Linked DNA regions of Homo sapiens: all the other regions are linked to region 3. The links are contacts of gene promoters, found by promoter capture Hi-C in blood cells and fetal thymus (Javierre and others, 2016). All regions are on one chromosome and are shown on one strand. The core of a region is centred on a gene start or on the middle of the fragment in contact, and the rest is flanking DNA. Distances in the headings are between cores, read along the strand shown.

Region 1 (3,351 bases), core at 363-2,862, 690 kb after region 3:
ATTATTTTTTTTTAATAGAGACATAGTCTTCCTGTGCTGCCCAGGCTGGTCTTGAAGTCCTGGGCTCAAGCAATCCTCCATGCTTGGCCTCCCAAACTGTTGGGATTACAGGCATGAGCCACCACACCCAGCCAATAGTTATTATTATGGTTAATTTTTTGAGTGCTTACCATACACCAGGCACTGTGTAATATTGTATATATATATAAATATAAATATGCATATAACATACAGCACATATATAAACAGATGTTTATTTGTTATGTATATATAACATATGTATAATTTATTACTATAACAATACTATAGGGTTGCAACTATTGTTACCCCATTTCATAGGTGAGAAGAATAAAGCTTAGGAAGGTTAAATAAATGTGGCTACAGGCGCATGCCACCACACCTGGCTAAATTTTTGTATTTTTAGTGGGGACAGGGTTTTGCCATGTTGGTCAGAGTGGTCTTGAACTCCTGACCTCAGGTGTTCCACCTCCCTTGGCCTCCCAAAGTACTGGGATTACAGGCATGAGCTGCCACGCCTGGTCAAAACATCCTGCTTTTTAAATGAAGTATCAGATTAAGACATGTAGGCAAAAAAGCAATGTAGCAGCAATGCATGAAGAATAGGTTTATCTGTTAATCCCTAAATAGCTGGTATTTGAGTATCAGGAACTACAGAGACATCTAGAGGGGAAGAGGAAAGGTCTGAAACCGTGGCCAAGAGACGCAAAGCTATGCACTGCCCCTCAGAACTTCATGATGGCAAAGAACAGTTTATTGTGTTGAACTTTTGTTTACACTGATGTGTATATATTAAAATAAGACGTATTTGTTAAAGTGTGGTGGTGGTCAGGAGAATACACTTCACAGATCTTTACTGAGTGAGAGTGATTGATTGAGGGCCCAGGGACTGAGCATGCTGGAGATTAGAGGGCAGTCCTATTCCATGGGACTCCTCTGACTGATGACTTTGGCTTGAGACATCTAAAAATTTCTTGTTGCACCTACCTTAGGCTAAACTGGCTTCTATCCACCTGCTCCTTTGCTCCACTGACAGCTGGCTTTCCCAGCCCCTCCTCTCTCCCTACATTTTCCTTTTCTTTTTCTTTTTCTTTTTTTTTTTTGAGACCAAGTCTTGCTCTGTTGCCCAAGCTGGAGTGCAATGGTGTGATCTTGGGTCATTGCAACCTCAGCCCCCCGGAGTTCAAGTGATTCTCCTGCCTCAGCCTCCTGAGTAGCTGGGATTACAGCATGTGCCGCCATGCCCGGCTAATTTTTGTATTTTTAGTAGAGGCAGGTTTTCACCATACTGGTCAGGCTGGTCTTGAACTCCTGACGTCAGTTGATCCGCCCGCCTCCACCTCCCAAAGTGCTGGGATTACAGGCTTGAGCCACAGAGCCTGGCCTTCTTTTTTTTTTTTTTTTTTCAGGGATGTCCCCATGTTCCCTGGGCCAGTCTCAAACTCCTGGGCTCAAGCGATCCTTCTGCCTCAGCCTCTCAAAGTGCTAGGATTACAGGCGTGAGCCACCATGCCTGACCCCCCTACATTTTCTATCACAGAGACTTCTCCTAGAGAAATATTTGTAAATTTAATCCTGTCCTGGAGTCTGCTTCTGGGAGGACCCAGACTAACATGAGTGATAAATGTCTTCTTAAGAAAATGCCTCCAGTCTAGACTGCTCCCTCAAACTCTAGATCTCTTTAGATGTTACCATAAAATTCCATAAGGATACTTTGCAGGTAATCCCCCACCTTTTTAATAGACTTAGTTTTTCTTTTTTCTTTTTTTTTTTTTTTTAGACTTAGTTTTTCTAGAGCATTCTTAGGGTCATAAGAAATTTGAATAGAAGGTACAGAGACTTCCCATATATCCTCTGCCCCCACACAGGTATAGCCCCCCACTAACAACATTGCCCACCAGAGTGACATTAACCAACTTTGAGCTCTAGGGAACACATGCTAAAAATTTTCTTCTTATCAGTTTTATAATTTCTTTGTATCATTAATATTAATACTTCAGCAAACAACAATGCTTAGAGACAGTGATTCATGGGCTAATTTTAGACAGTCCTCACTACATAAATAAGGCCTGTAGTTTACAACTGATGAACCTACATTTACACATCATTATCACACAGTGCCCATAGCTTACCATAGGGTTCACTCTTGATGTTGTACAGTCTAGGGGTTTGGATAACTTATAATGACATATATCCACCATTCTAGTGTCATGCAGAGTAGTTTCACTGCCCTAAGAGTCACTGGTGCTTTGCCTGTTCATCCCTCCCTCCCTTCAACCCCTGATTTTTTTTTTTTTTTGAGATGGAGTCTCACTGTGTTGCCCAGGCTGGAGTGCAGCCATGTGATCTCAGCTTACTGCAACCTCTGCCACCCAGATTCAAGTGATTCTCTGGCCTCAGCCTCCTATGTAGCTGGGATTACAGGTGCCCACCACCACACCCAGATAATTTTAGTATTTTTAGTAGAGACAGAGTTTTGCCACATTGGCCAGCCTGGTCTTGAACTCCCAACCTCAGGAGATCCAACAGCTTCAGCCTCCCAAAGTACTGGGATTACAGGCGTGAGCCACCACACAGGGCAATCACTTGTCTTTTAAGTGTCTTTATAGTTTTACCATTTCCAGAATGTTGTGTAGTTGGGACCATACAGTATGTAGCCTTTTTGGGCTGGCTTTTTTCACTTAGCAACATACATTTAAGTTTCATTAAATGTCTTTTCATGACTTGATGGCACATTTCTTTTTAGTGATGAATAATATTCTATTTGTCTGTATGTACCATAGTTTATCCGTTCACCCACTGAAGGATATCTTGGTTGCCTCCAAGTTTTGGTATTTGTGAATAAAGCTTCTACAAACATCCATATGGATAGAAGTTTTTGTATGAACACAAGTTTTCAACTCCTTTGTGTAAATACCAAGGAGCCCAATTGCAGGATCAGATGGGAAGATTGTGTTTAGTTTTGTAAGAAGCCACCAAATTGTGTTCCAAAGTGGCTGTACCATTTTGCATTCCCACCAGCAATGAATGAGACTTCCTGTTGCTCACATCCTTGCAGGCGTTTGGTGTTGCTAGTGGGTAATCTCGTTTTGGCATTGGTCTTGGTTAACAGCCTGAACACTAACACCTCAGCCGCCCTCACAAACTCACCCAATCAGTCACTAAAGTCCTTGATTATTCCTCTTGAACATTTCTTCTTTCCACCCTCTTCTTCATCCCACTGCCTTGCCTTTGTCATCATTTCCCAGTTGACTGTGGTAGTTTTTCAATTGCTCCCATTGCCTCCAGAGACATCGCCAGTCAAAACACACTTTATGTTAGCTGGGTGTGCTG
Region 2 (3,425 bases), core at 357-2,856, 660 kb after region 3:
TAGTTTTTTCATGCTGTGGTGAAAATATTTTGAGGTTTAGAGCCAGAAAGAAGTATTTCAAATACTGCTCTGTCATTTATTAGCTAAAATACTTCTTTCAGGTTCTGTCTTCTCAGTTATAAATATGAAGGTAGAAATACCTATTTGGCACAGCTACTATGAAGACTGAATGAGATACACTGATATGAAAGCAACTGTCACATAATAAGGAATTGTTCATGTCCCTTGTCTTATACACAATTGACAAAATGTCCTTATGTTTATTTAGTTTATAGGAGAGATTGAGAATTATCTGGCCAAAAAGAATCCTTTCCCTTCATTCCCGCATGCCACACCCATCTTTCTCAGTGAACGTGCTCAAACCCAACTGTTTTTATTAGGTTGGTGCAAAAGTAATTGCAGTTTTTGCCATTAAAAGTAATGACAAAAGGCCAGGCACGGTGGCTCACGCCTGTAATCCCAGCATTTTGGGAGGCCAAGGTGGGCAGATCACCTGAGGTCAGGAGTTTGAGAGCAGCCTGGCCAACATGGCCAAATCTGGTCTCTACTGAAAATACAAAAATTAGCTGGGTGTGATGGCACGTACCTGTAGTCCCAGCTACTCAGGAGGCTGAGGTGGGAGGATCACCTGAGCCCAGGGAGTCAAGGCTACAGTGAGTTGAGATTGTGCCACTGCACTCCAGCCTGAGCAACTGGAGACCCTATCTAAAAAAAAAAAGTAATGACAAAAACAAAGTAATGACAAAAACCTCAATTACTTTTGCACCAACTTATACGTTTGTTCTTTGTTGATCAGTTATGGAGTGGCATTAAGATATAAAATGGTGCTCCTCTTTGTTTAACTTCTGCTGGCTTTGTAAGTTAGTGGAATTGTAGCCAATGTATGCTTATACACAGAAAGGCAACCAGAAATCCTGCAGTGAGAAAGCAGATGCATAAATTCCTGAGGAGCGTCTCTGTAGGAAGAAACTACATGATGATGGAGACATCGCCTCTCTACATTGTCAACAGTTATCAGCTATTGTGACTGGTTGTTTCCTCATGGGCATACAAAAAAGCTTTTAATAAAAGTGGAACAACAGGAAAGGATACAATTAAGTGCCAGCAATGCACCTAGCTACTAAGACTTCTAGGCCAAAGTACTTGAAACCTTTTACAGGGTAACATTACGACAATCACAAAATGCAAATTAGTAAAGGTCAAAACTTTTGAGCAAATGCAGACATTCAGTCCTACTTTGCTTTTATCTTGAAAGAAATCCAAAATCTAGTTTTAGACAAGCTTGTTTAAACATGTATACTGATACACAGGAATACAAGTGCTCTTGTTTCAAACCCTACGTATGTTCCAATGAAGGACTCCTGATTGATAATTGAGTCCACTCCAGACAAAATTGTTTTGGATAGCCAATACAAAAGAGAATAGTTCGGTAATCCCACCCTTGCAGTAACTACATTTTCTTGTTTTGCTGATAATAACAACCACTTAGTTCATGGGAGCTAAATGGTGGGGAAGGAAGCCAACAGTGGGGAAAGAAGCAAGGCAGTAGAGCCAAGAGTGGCTGGCAAGGCCTGGGTGAGCCTCCTCTGCCCAGGCTTGAAAAGGGCCAGTTCTTAGGTTTGTAATGACATGCATGATAAAGGAGACATTGAATTTCAGTGTGAATGTCAACAGTTGCTTCAACTATCATACCTTTTACTAATAGCAGATGCAAAAACTCAAGCTGTGCTTTCATGAGATATTTATGAATCCATCAGTATTATGAAAACATTTAAGTGACAAATTATGAATACACTATATTACGTGTCACAGCACCAGCATTACTTCAAGCCTTGTAAAGGGAGTTCTTGCATAGGTACAATATCATACTGATAGGCTCTATCACTTTAAGTGACATTTTGTTGTTATAAAATATGGCTTGTGCAAGCTTTTTAAAAAATCATGAATTGAGTTATTTTTATTTTTGTTGGCTTTTTTTAGGTAGTAGGTGAGGTACTAATTATAGTAGAAACCCAGAAATTATCCAGTATGTCAATAACCAGACTATAGGTGCTGGCTGAATAACTAGTCACTCAATCTAGGGATCAGACAGTCTCATCGTTGTTAGTTTATGAAACTAAGGGAAGATTTCCAGGGGAATAGTCATCAGGAAGTCAGATGAGTCAGTTGGGCTCCTGTCAAAGGTGGGTACAGGCCAGGAGTGAAGGTATAGTACACAATGCAAGAGAACCCAAAAGAACAGCTAAGAAAAAATCAGAAAATCTGAGTTTTAGTCCTGCTTCCTCCACCTGCATTACCTTCCATGAACTTCAGTTTCCTTATCCTCAGAATGAGGGTATGGGCTTATTTCACAGAACCCTTATAAGCCTCAAGTGGGATAAAGTATCAGCAATGGTTTACAATCCTTGAAGTGTAAGGTCAATGTAAGGTGGAACCTGTATTCATTGCCAGGGAATCCTCAAGAATAAGTCAGGAGGTAAAACCAATGGATTCAAGCAGCAGGGCTTCTAGAGGCCTAAAGTTAGAGCAGCCAGGAGCAGCTTTCTGCAGCAACTGGTAAAGCAACTACTTGAGAAATTCTGCCATGCCTCTTTAGCATGGGCAGCAACTAGAGGGCCCCCCATCTACCACTTATCTCTGACCTTGCATTCTCCTGCCTGTGTCAGGGCAGAAGAAGGGGTACGAAGTAGGTCCACCTCTTGGTAATGCTTTTTTCTGACACAGCTTGGGCAGAAGCCCCAAACTCAGAATCTACACATGATACTTTCATTTATAATATATACTTTTGAATTTCTGTTTTAAAATCTTTTTTCATCTAAGATTTTAATGAACTTATATTTCTATTAATTAACATATTTCTTTCCACTATTTAACGTAGAAATTGTCTAGTACCAAAACTTAATTTATCATATGTATTTTAATTTCTACTTGTGAGATCTAGAGGCTAAATGAACTCATATAAGAATATAAAGAAAGCACCATTAACCACAGTGATTAACTTGCAGGGATTTACCTGCAGTGATTAACCACAAGGACTCAAGATCACCGGCTGGGGAATCCCAGCCTCACTCTTAATGAGCTCTGTGACTTTGACCAAATAATCATACCCCTCTGTGCCTGATTTTTCCTCAATATGGGACTAATAATAGTGCCTACCTCTGAGGAAAGTTATAAATTAACTGTAGTGGGTTAATATTTGTAAAGCACTTAGAACAGTGTCTGATACATAGTGCATATTGAATAAACTGCATCTCTCAATCAAATATTGATGGGAAACAATGTTTTCACAGACATGGTCTGAAGTTATTATAAAGCACATGCTTCCTCTATTTTCTTATCTTATATGCAGCATATATTATTTTGACCCTTGATCCTAATCATAAGATTAAAAAACGAATCCAAAGACTATCATGAGCTTATGCTAC
Region 3 (3,602 bases), core at 665-3,164:
CTTACCATGTGCCAAGCACTAATCTGGGCACTAGGAATTCAGCAGAGGAAAAAAATACGAAGATTCCTATTCTTGTAGAGTTTATAGTCTAGTAGGGGAAACAGGTAGACAAAAAAAAAAACACCCTGTAAATTATATGATAGCTGGTGGTTAATGCACTGGGGGAAGAAAGTGGAGCAGGGTAAGGGGGATTGAGAGGGCAAGATGAGGTCAGGCAGGTGGCTCACGCCTATAATCCCAGCACTTTGGGAGGCCAAGGCAGGAGACTCGCTTGTGTCCAAGAGTTTGAGATCAGCCTGGGCAACACAGTGAGATCTAAAATAAAAATAGTATGGGCGCGGTGGCTCATGCCTGTAATTCCAGTACTTGGGGAGGCTGAGGCGGGCGGATCACTTGAGGCCAGGAGTTCAAGACCAGCCTGGTCAACATGGTGAAACCTCGTCTCTACTAAAAATACAAAAATTAGCCAAGCGTGGTGGTGCACACCTGTAGTCACAGCTATTTGGGAGGCTGAGGCTGAAGAATCGCTTGAACCTGGGAGGGGGAGGCTGCAGTGAGCCGAGTTCACACCAGTGCATTCTAGCCTCGGCGACAGAGCGAGTGTCAAAAAAAAAAACAACAAAACAGGCCGGGCGCGGTGGCTCACGCCTGTAATCCCAGCACTGTCGGAGGCTTAGGCGTGCGGATCAGGAAGTCAGGAAATCGAGACCATCCTGGCTAACACGGTGAAACCCCGTCTCTACTAAAAATACAAAAAATTAGCCGGGCGTGGTGGCAGGCGCCTGTAGTCCCAGCTACTCGGGAGGCTGAGGCGGGAGAATGGCGTGAACCCGGGAGGCGGAGCTTGCAGTGAGCAGAGATCGCGCCACTGCACTCCAGCCTGGGCGACAGAGCGAGACTGCGTCTCAAAAAAAAAAAAAATAGCCGGGTGTGGCGGTGTGCGCCTGTAGTCCCAGCTGCTGGGGAGGCTGAGGCAGGAGAATGGCGTGAACCTGGGAGGCGGAGCTTGCAGTGAGCCGAGATCCCGCCATTGCACTCCAGCCTGGGCGACAGAGCAAGACTCCGTCTCAAAAAAACAAAACAAAACAAAACAAAACAACACCCTGTGGAATAAAAATTGATCAGGAGGACGGGTGCATTCGAATGAATCAGGAAAAGAACACGCAATGATGGACCCTGGGAAGTGACCTGATGGAAGTTCATTTTAAAAGATCTCTTTGGCGTTGGTGTGGGATGAGTGGAGAGATGATCACGGCAGAATCCCATAGGAGGTTTTGGGTGACATCTTCAGGAGAGGTATACAATCTGAACTAACCGAAGACTGTAAGAAAAGCAGTGTCTGTAAAAAAAGCAGCGCTGACTTTGACCTGCTTGACGCCAGGAAACGCTCCACATTCCTGAGCCCGTTCACCGCTCCGTAAGATGGAGAAACTGGTCTAAACGCTTTGAAGTCTAATGCAGCTAAAGATCCTTCCCTTTACTTGGAGACCTCGGAGGCTGTGGGCTGAGACAGGGTCGGATTCCTCTCGCTCCCTCCCCACCCCCGCGGGCAGTGCACCTTCCTGGGTCCCCAAGGTCAAAGGAAATGGACAACTGCGTCCCCGGGTTCGCAGTCTGCATTCGGAGCCAGCAGGAGCGACAGGAGGCAGGAACGGAAGGCTTCGCCGCGCTCAATTACCACAGTCCCTGCGCAGCCCTGAGCTCGCGGGGCGTCCCGAGGCTGGCAGGACACGGGACACTCACGGGGAGACCCGGCGGGAGCGTGGGCGGGGCGGAGAGGCGAAGTGACAGGGGGCGCGGGCAGGGGGCCCGGCGCGGCGCGCCAGCAGAGGCGCACTCACCTGTACGTCAGGCCCTCTCGTCCCTCCCCGCGGCCGCGCGGACTGCAGGCCTCCAGGCTACCCCTATCTGCGCCCCGCCCCTTCCGCCGGCGCCGGCGCAGTGAGAGCGGGTCGGGCGGGGCGCGAGGCCAGGGCGGCAGCGAAGCAGCGACCCCTGCTGGAGGCCGCGTCTTGGAGGACTGCGCGGGAAGTAGGCTCGGGGCACACCATTCTCCCGGGTTCACGCCATTCTCCTGCCTCAGCCTCCTGAGTAGCTGGGACTACAGGCGCCCACCACCACGCCCGGCTAATTTTTTTGTGTTTTTAGCAGAGACAGGGTTTCACCGTTTTAGCCAGGATGGTCTCGATCTCCCGCCCTCGTGATCCGCTCTCCTCGGCCTCCCAAAGTGCTGGGATTACAGGCGTGAGCCACCGCGCCCGGCCATCTTAATTCTTTTTTCTTTTTTTTTTTTTTTTGAAACCGAGTCTCACTCTTGCCCAGGCTGGAGTGCAGCGGCGTAATCTCAGCTCACTGCGACCTCCGCCTCCCGGGTTCAAGCGATTGTCGTTCCTCAGTCTCCTAAGTAGCTGGGACTACAGGCGTGAGCCACCATGACCGGCTAATCATCTTAATTATTAATGAAGTGATCCTTTCTCTGGGACCACTAACCCCTTTGAACATTTTTTTTTTTGACAGGGTCTCACTCTGTTGCCCGGAGTGCAATGGTGCGATCTCGGCTCACTGCAACCTCTGCTACCCAGGCTCAAGCTGTTCTCCCCACCTCAGCCTCCCCAGTACCTGGGACTCCAGGTGTGTGCCACCACGGCCTGCTAATTTTTGTTTTGTTTTGTTTTGTTTGTAGAGATGGGGTTTCGCCATATTGCCCAGGCTGGGACTCAAGAGAAGCGATCTTCCAGCCTCAGCCTCTTAAAGTGCTGGGATTACAGGTGTAAGCCACCGAGCCCGCCCTCTTTGAACATCTCCAAGAGATATAGGCGTTGTTTCCAGAAAAATGTGCAAATACGTCAGACTCGCAGTTTAAGGAAACATCTTTTCAAGACCAACGCAATTTACACGTGAGCCAATTCCCCTTTCCCTCCCAACCAACTATCCATCCATTCGTCCATCCATCCATCCATCCATCCATCCATCCCTCTCTCATTAGGTCTGTCTGTGGAGAACTCTGACTCATACACCAAACAAGATGTCACCCTGCAACATTCTAACAAAACTTCTAGTCAAAGTCACAGATGACCTCTGCAATGTAAATCCAAAGGTCTGGTCTCATTCCTCAACTTACTTGAGTTATAGGATACCCCATTGGTTTCACCTACCTCACTTGCCACTTAATCTTCTTCCCTGTTTTTTCTTTTGTTTTGTTTTGTTTTTTTGTTTTTGAGAATGAGGCCTGCTCTGGCCCCCAGGCTGGTGTGCAATGGCATGATCTCTGCTCACTGCAACCTTCACTCTCGGGTTCAAGCGATTCTCCTGCCTCAGCCTCCTTAGTAGTTGGGACTACAGGTACGCACCACCATGCCCGGCTAATTTTTGTAGTTTTAATAGAGACAGGGTTTCACCAATATTGGCCAGGCTTGTCTCAAACTCCTGACCTCAAGTGATCCACCTGCCTTGGCATCTCAAAGTGCTGGGATTACAGGCATGAGCCACCACTCCCAGCCAGCTGTTTTTTCATTACATCCTTAGAATGCCAAAGAGTAAGTGCCCCATACTTAGACCTCTAATCTTTTTCCTTTTTATCTATCCTAGTTCCCCAGTCGATC
Region 4 (3,492 bases), core at 723-3,222, 590 kb after region 3:
TGGTGTTAATGTTTCAAAAGAGAACTCTAATTTAAAATCATTTCTCATGAAAAATCTTTATGTATTAGCAACACGTCAGGGATACAGTTTTGCTGACTGAAGACAATAGAATGGCTGTGAAGCTGAATCTGAGATGGACTGATATTTATCACCTCAGCTCTCATGAATAGAAATTCTCTAAGGTGCAGAGGCAAGCAGAGGGAAAAAGAGATTATCACAGTATCCCTGCTCTCCATCTATCCAAATAAAGTTGTCCTTGCAAAGATGCTAGTCACAAGCTCCAAATGTCAGCTTCAAATTCCCACCCTAAGGGTGTTCCAATACCACTCTAACCTCCTTCTCCCCTCCCTCCACCTCAGACTTCCAGCTGTGGTCAGACAGATTTGTTTGCCCTTCCCATACATACAACTTGCTTCATTATTTATATGTCTTTGCTTGGGTTTTCTATTAATGCTTTTGCCTCTCCTCTTTGTAATCTTTGGCTATCAAATTCCATCAAGTCTAATTTCAAAATTCACTTCCTCCAAGATTTCCCTGATTGTAATAAATCCTGTTTCATAAGCCCCTAAAAGTCAATTTCATGTAGCTGAAATATTACACTACAGCAAAAAGAAAAGGACATCGTTATAAATCACAGAATTGTTTCAATACTAGTTTTTAAAAAGAAAAAGAAAGCAATAAAATGGTGTGAGAAATAGTGTCTATTTTTCTCAAGTGTAGATTATTCTCTTTTTAAGAATAGGGATTATTGAGAAACATCAGTTTCATCAGAAAGAGATGGTGGGTGGAGAATTTTTCACAGGCTGTAACATGACTTTACAGAGCTTTTGTTGTTACCACATGTTGATGATTATTATTTCTAATTTCACATCAAGATTCATGGTTTTTCCCTTTCCGTCACACAAATGCATCACTAGCTTTACTTTTAGGCTTTACAGCCATCAACTGAGTGATAGTGATTAATAATGGAATGAAAGGGGAAACAAAGAATGGAAAGAAAAAAAGAAAGGGGCCGGGTGCAGTGGCTCACACCTGTAATCCCAGCACTTTGGGAGGCTGAGGCAGGTGGATCGCTTGAGATCAGGGGTTCGAGACCAGCCTGGGCAACATAGTGAAACCCTGCCTCTACCAAAAAAATACAAAAATTAGCTGGGCATGGTGGTGTGCGCCTACAGTCCCAGCTACTTGGGAGGTTGAGGCAGAAGACTTGCTTGAACCCAGGAGGTGGAGGTTGCAGTGAGCCAAGATCATGCCACTGCACTCCAGCCTGGGTGACAGAGAGAGACTCTGTCTCAAAAGAAAAAAAAAGAGAGAGAGAGAGAGAGAGAGAGAGGAAGAAAGGAAAGTGCTTCAAATAAGGTGAGGATGTGCTTTAAAGGAAGGAAAATTCTATATGTGGAAATAATGTAGCTGAGGGAGAGTAGAGGGCAGAAGAAGAGAGGCAGCACAGCAGGTGCACAGCCCTGGAAGGGGAAAGCCACCAGCCCCACGTCTTCCCTGGGCTGGGTGCTGGGACTGCCAGGCTTAACACAGGCTTCTTGTACAGCTCTTGACACAGAGAACTGAAGGATGTGCATAATGCAGGGGAGAGAAAGTAAGTGGTTTTGAACTTCGAGGTTCAACATTATGAAATACCATTTTTGTAGGTCAAAACCAGTCAAATATGGCAATTTCATATAGTTGCACCTAGTACTATTTAGTAAGTGTTCATCTAGGTTTTCCGGGAACATATATCAGTTTCTCAATTTAATCATAGGCTTTTTAGGAGCTAAGAACCATATCACCTTCTGTCTCTATAACCTGTACTCAGTGGGTATAAAACAAATGCTTTTTTTTTTTCAGTCAGGGATGATACAAAACAAGTTTTTTTCTTGTGCCACTGGTTGAGGCTTCCAGTACAGAGAGAGTTGAGTCACTAAACCACAAAGCATTCTGTCCCAAGAAAATATTTATTTTGTTTAACAATATTTTAAATTAGGGAGTGTTATCTCATCAGGTAGAATGATGAGGACTCTTGAGTCAACAATCTCTGCTCACAGGAGATTTTTATTCCTGCAGTCAAGACGAAGGTAGAAACTTTCACTTTGTGAAAATTGGGCACAATCTAACACAAAGAACCACTGTATTCATATTCTTCAGTTAAAATATCTTCATATTGTCTTTGTACCAAATTTTAAAGAATATTAACAATAATTCAAAAAGGAAACAAACTTATTTTTTATAAACTGAATAATGGTAGGACATATAAAGATGCTTCTAAAAATGAGAAATTCATAAAATTAAAAAGGAGATAATTAAATTTTATTAAAATTTTCTATTTCACACATTGTTTAAAAGGGAAGAATAAAGGCTATTGGTATTTTTCCCAGCTTTGATAGTTGCTTTTTACTGAAAAGGATCAAAATATTTTATTAGCAAAATTAATTTCCCAATCTGTCATCCGTTTTTTTCTTTAAAAGAAGAAAATCTTAGGTTTTCCTCACTTGGGAACCACTCAAAATATTTTTCTCTTTTTTTTTTTTTTTTCATTTTTTAAGTAAATTGATACCAGGTCTCACTATGTTTCCCAGGCTGGTTTCAAACTCCTGGGGTCAGGTGATCCTCCCACCTCAGCCTCCCAAAATTTTGGGATTACGGGCATGAGCCACTGCACCTGACCATATTTTTCTCTTGTTACCAAATTTAACAGTTACAATTTATGCTACTAGACTTTAAATATGAGAAAATCACATAACTGCAATTACTATTAACTCATTTATTTTTGAAAACCGAAAATATTTGACATCAAACCATTACATGAATCATTCCAATGGATTATTCATTTTGTCCTCTCACTTTCCTATCAATAGTTTATCTGTTTTACTAGTAGAAAAAGGAAGATATTGATCAACCGAAGAAATACCATGCAAAAACTTTGATTCTCTGCTTAAAATGTAAGCATGTTATGGGAAAGCAAACACATATGGATTATGGATTTACTATTTGCTTATAGACAGAGCCACACGCCTGTGACAATGCAGGAGGAGACTGGAGTGACGCAGTGGGAAGCCAACGAGAACACCAAGGATTGCCAGCAGCCATGGGAAGCTAGGAAGAGCAAGGAGGGATCCTTCCCTAGAGCCTTCAGAAGGAGCACGGTCCTGCTGAAACTTTGATTTTGGACTTCTAGCCCCCAGACTGTGAGAGAGAAAAAACTGTTAAGTGACCATGTTTACGGCAACTTGTTATAGCTACCCCAGGAAACTAATATACCACGCTACCCCAACGTGAATGTGCATTCTAAAAGACAGCTTGAGGAGAGGGCAACGTTTAACACAGAGATGAAATAACAGGTATTTCTGGCATCAGTAATAACTCAGAGGAAGAGATCTTTTTAGGGACGCTGGCCTTCAGAGTAGTTTTTAAATGAGGCTTGGCATGTGCCAGTCTCTTCCAGGGAGGTGTAGAATGGGCTGTCTCTTAGTAAAGCACTCTACTAAGCCCTGTGGAAGG

Evidence for each region. Contacts are between HindIII fragments. The CHiCAGO score rates a contact against its expected background, and 5 or more counts as called.
Region 1: a contact is called between a fragment that was not itself captured here and the fragment with the promoter of MTRES1 in region 3, in 1 of 17 cell types (M2 macrophages). The highest score is 6.3, in M2 macrophages.
Region 2: a fragment that was not itself captured here is called in contact with the fragment with the promoter of MTRES1 in region 3 in 2 of 17 cell types (M1 macrophages and naive B cells); the score reaches 5.5 in M1 macrophages.
Region 4: a fragment that was not itself captured here is called in contact with the fragment with the promoter of MTRES1 in region 3 in 1 of 17 cell types (neutrophils); the score reaches 6.2 in neutrophils.

Annotation. Positions count from the first base shown.
Region 1 is chr6:106,340,824-106,344,174 of GRCh38, reverse strand. No RefSeq gene overlaps it. Among named protein-coding and RNA genes, the nearest start is that of ATG5, 17 kb to the right of the region's middle. The HindIII fragment of the contact is 2,511 bases long and covers 357-2,867 here.
Region 2 is chr6:106,369,556-106,372,980 of GRCh38, reverse strand. All of the region lies in intron 1 of CRYBG1 (crystallin beta-gamma domain containing 1), which reads right to left. Among named protein-coding and RNA genes, the nearest start is that of CRYBG1, 11 kb to the right of the region's middle. The HindIII fragment of the contact is 646 bases long and covers 1,284-1,929 here.
Region 3 is chr6:107,026,511-107,030,112 of GRCh38, reverse strand. It overlaps MTRES1 (mitochondrial transcription rescue factor 1), which reads right to left and starts at 1,914. Exons shown (of 4, transcript NM_016487.5): 1 at 1,842-1,914. RefSeq lists enhancers at 1,196-1,295, 1,406-1,515 and a silencer at 1,626-2,095. The HindIII fragment of the contact is 13,635 bases long and covers 1-3,602 here.
Region 4 is chr6:106,438,085-106,441,576 of GRCh38, reverse strand. The region is part of intron 1 of CRYBG1 (crystallin beta-gamma domain containing 1); the gene reads right to left. Among named protein-coding and RNA genes, the nearest start is that of CRYBG1, 79 kb to the right of the region's middle. The HindIII fragment of the contact is 5,946 bases long and covers 1-3,492 here.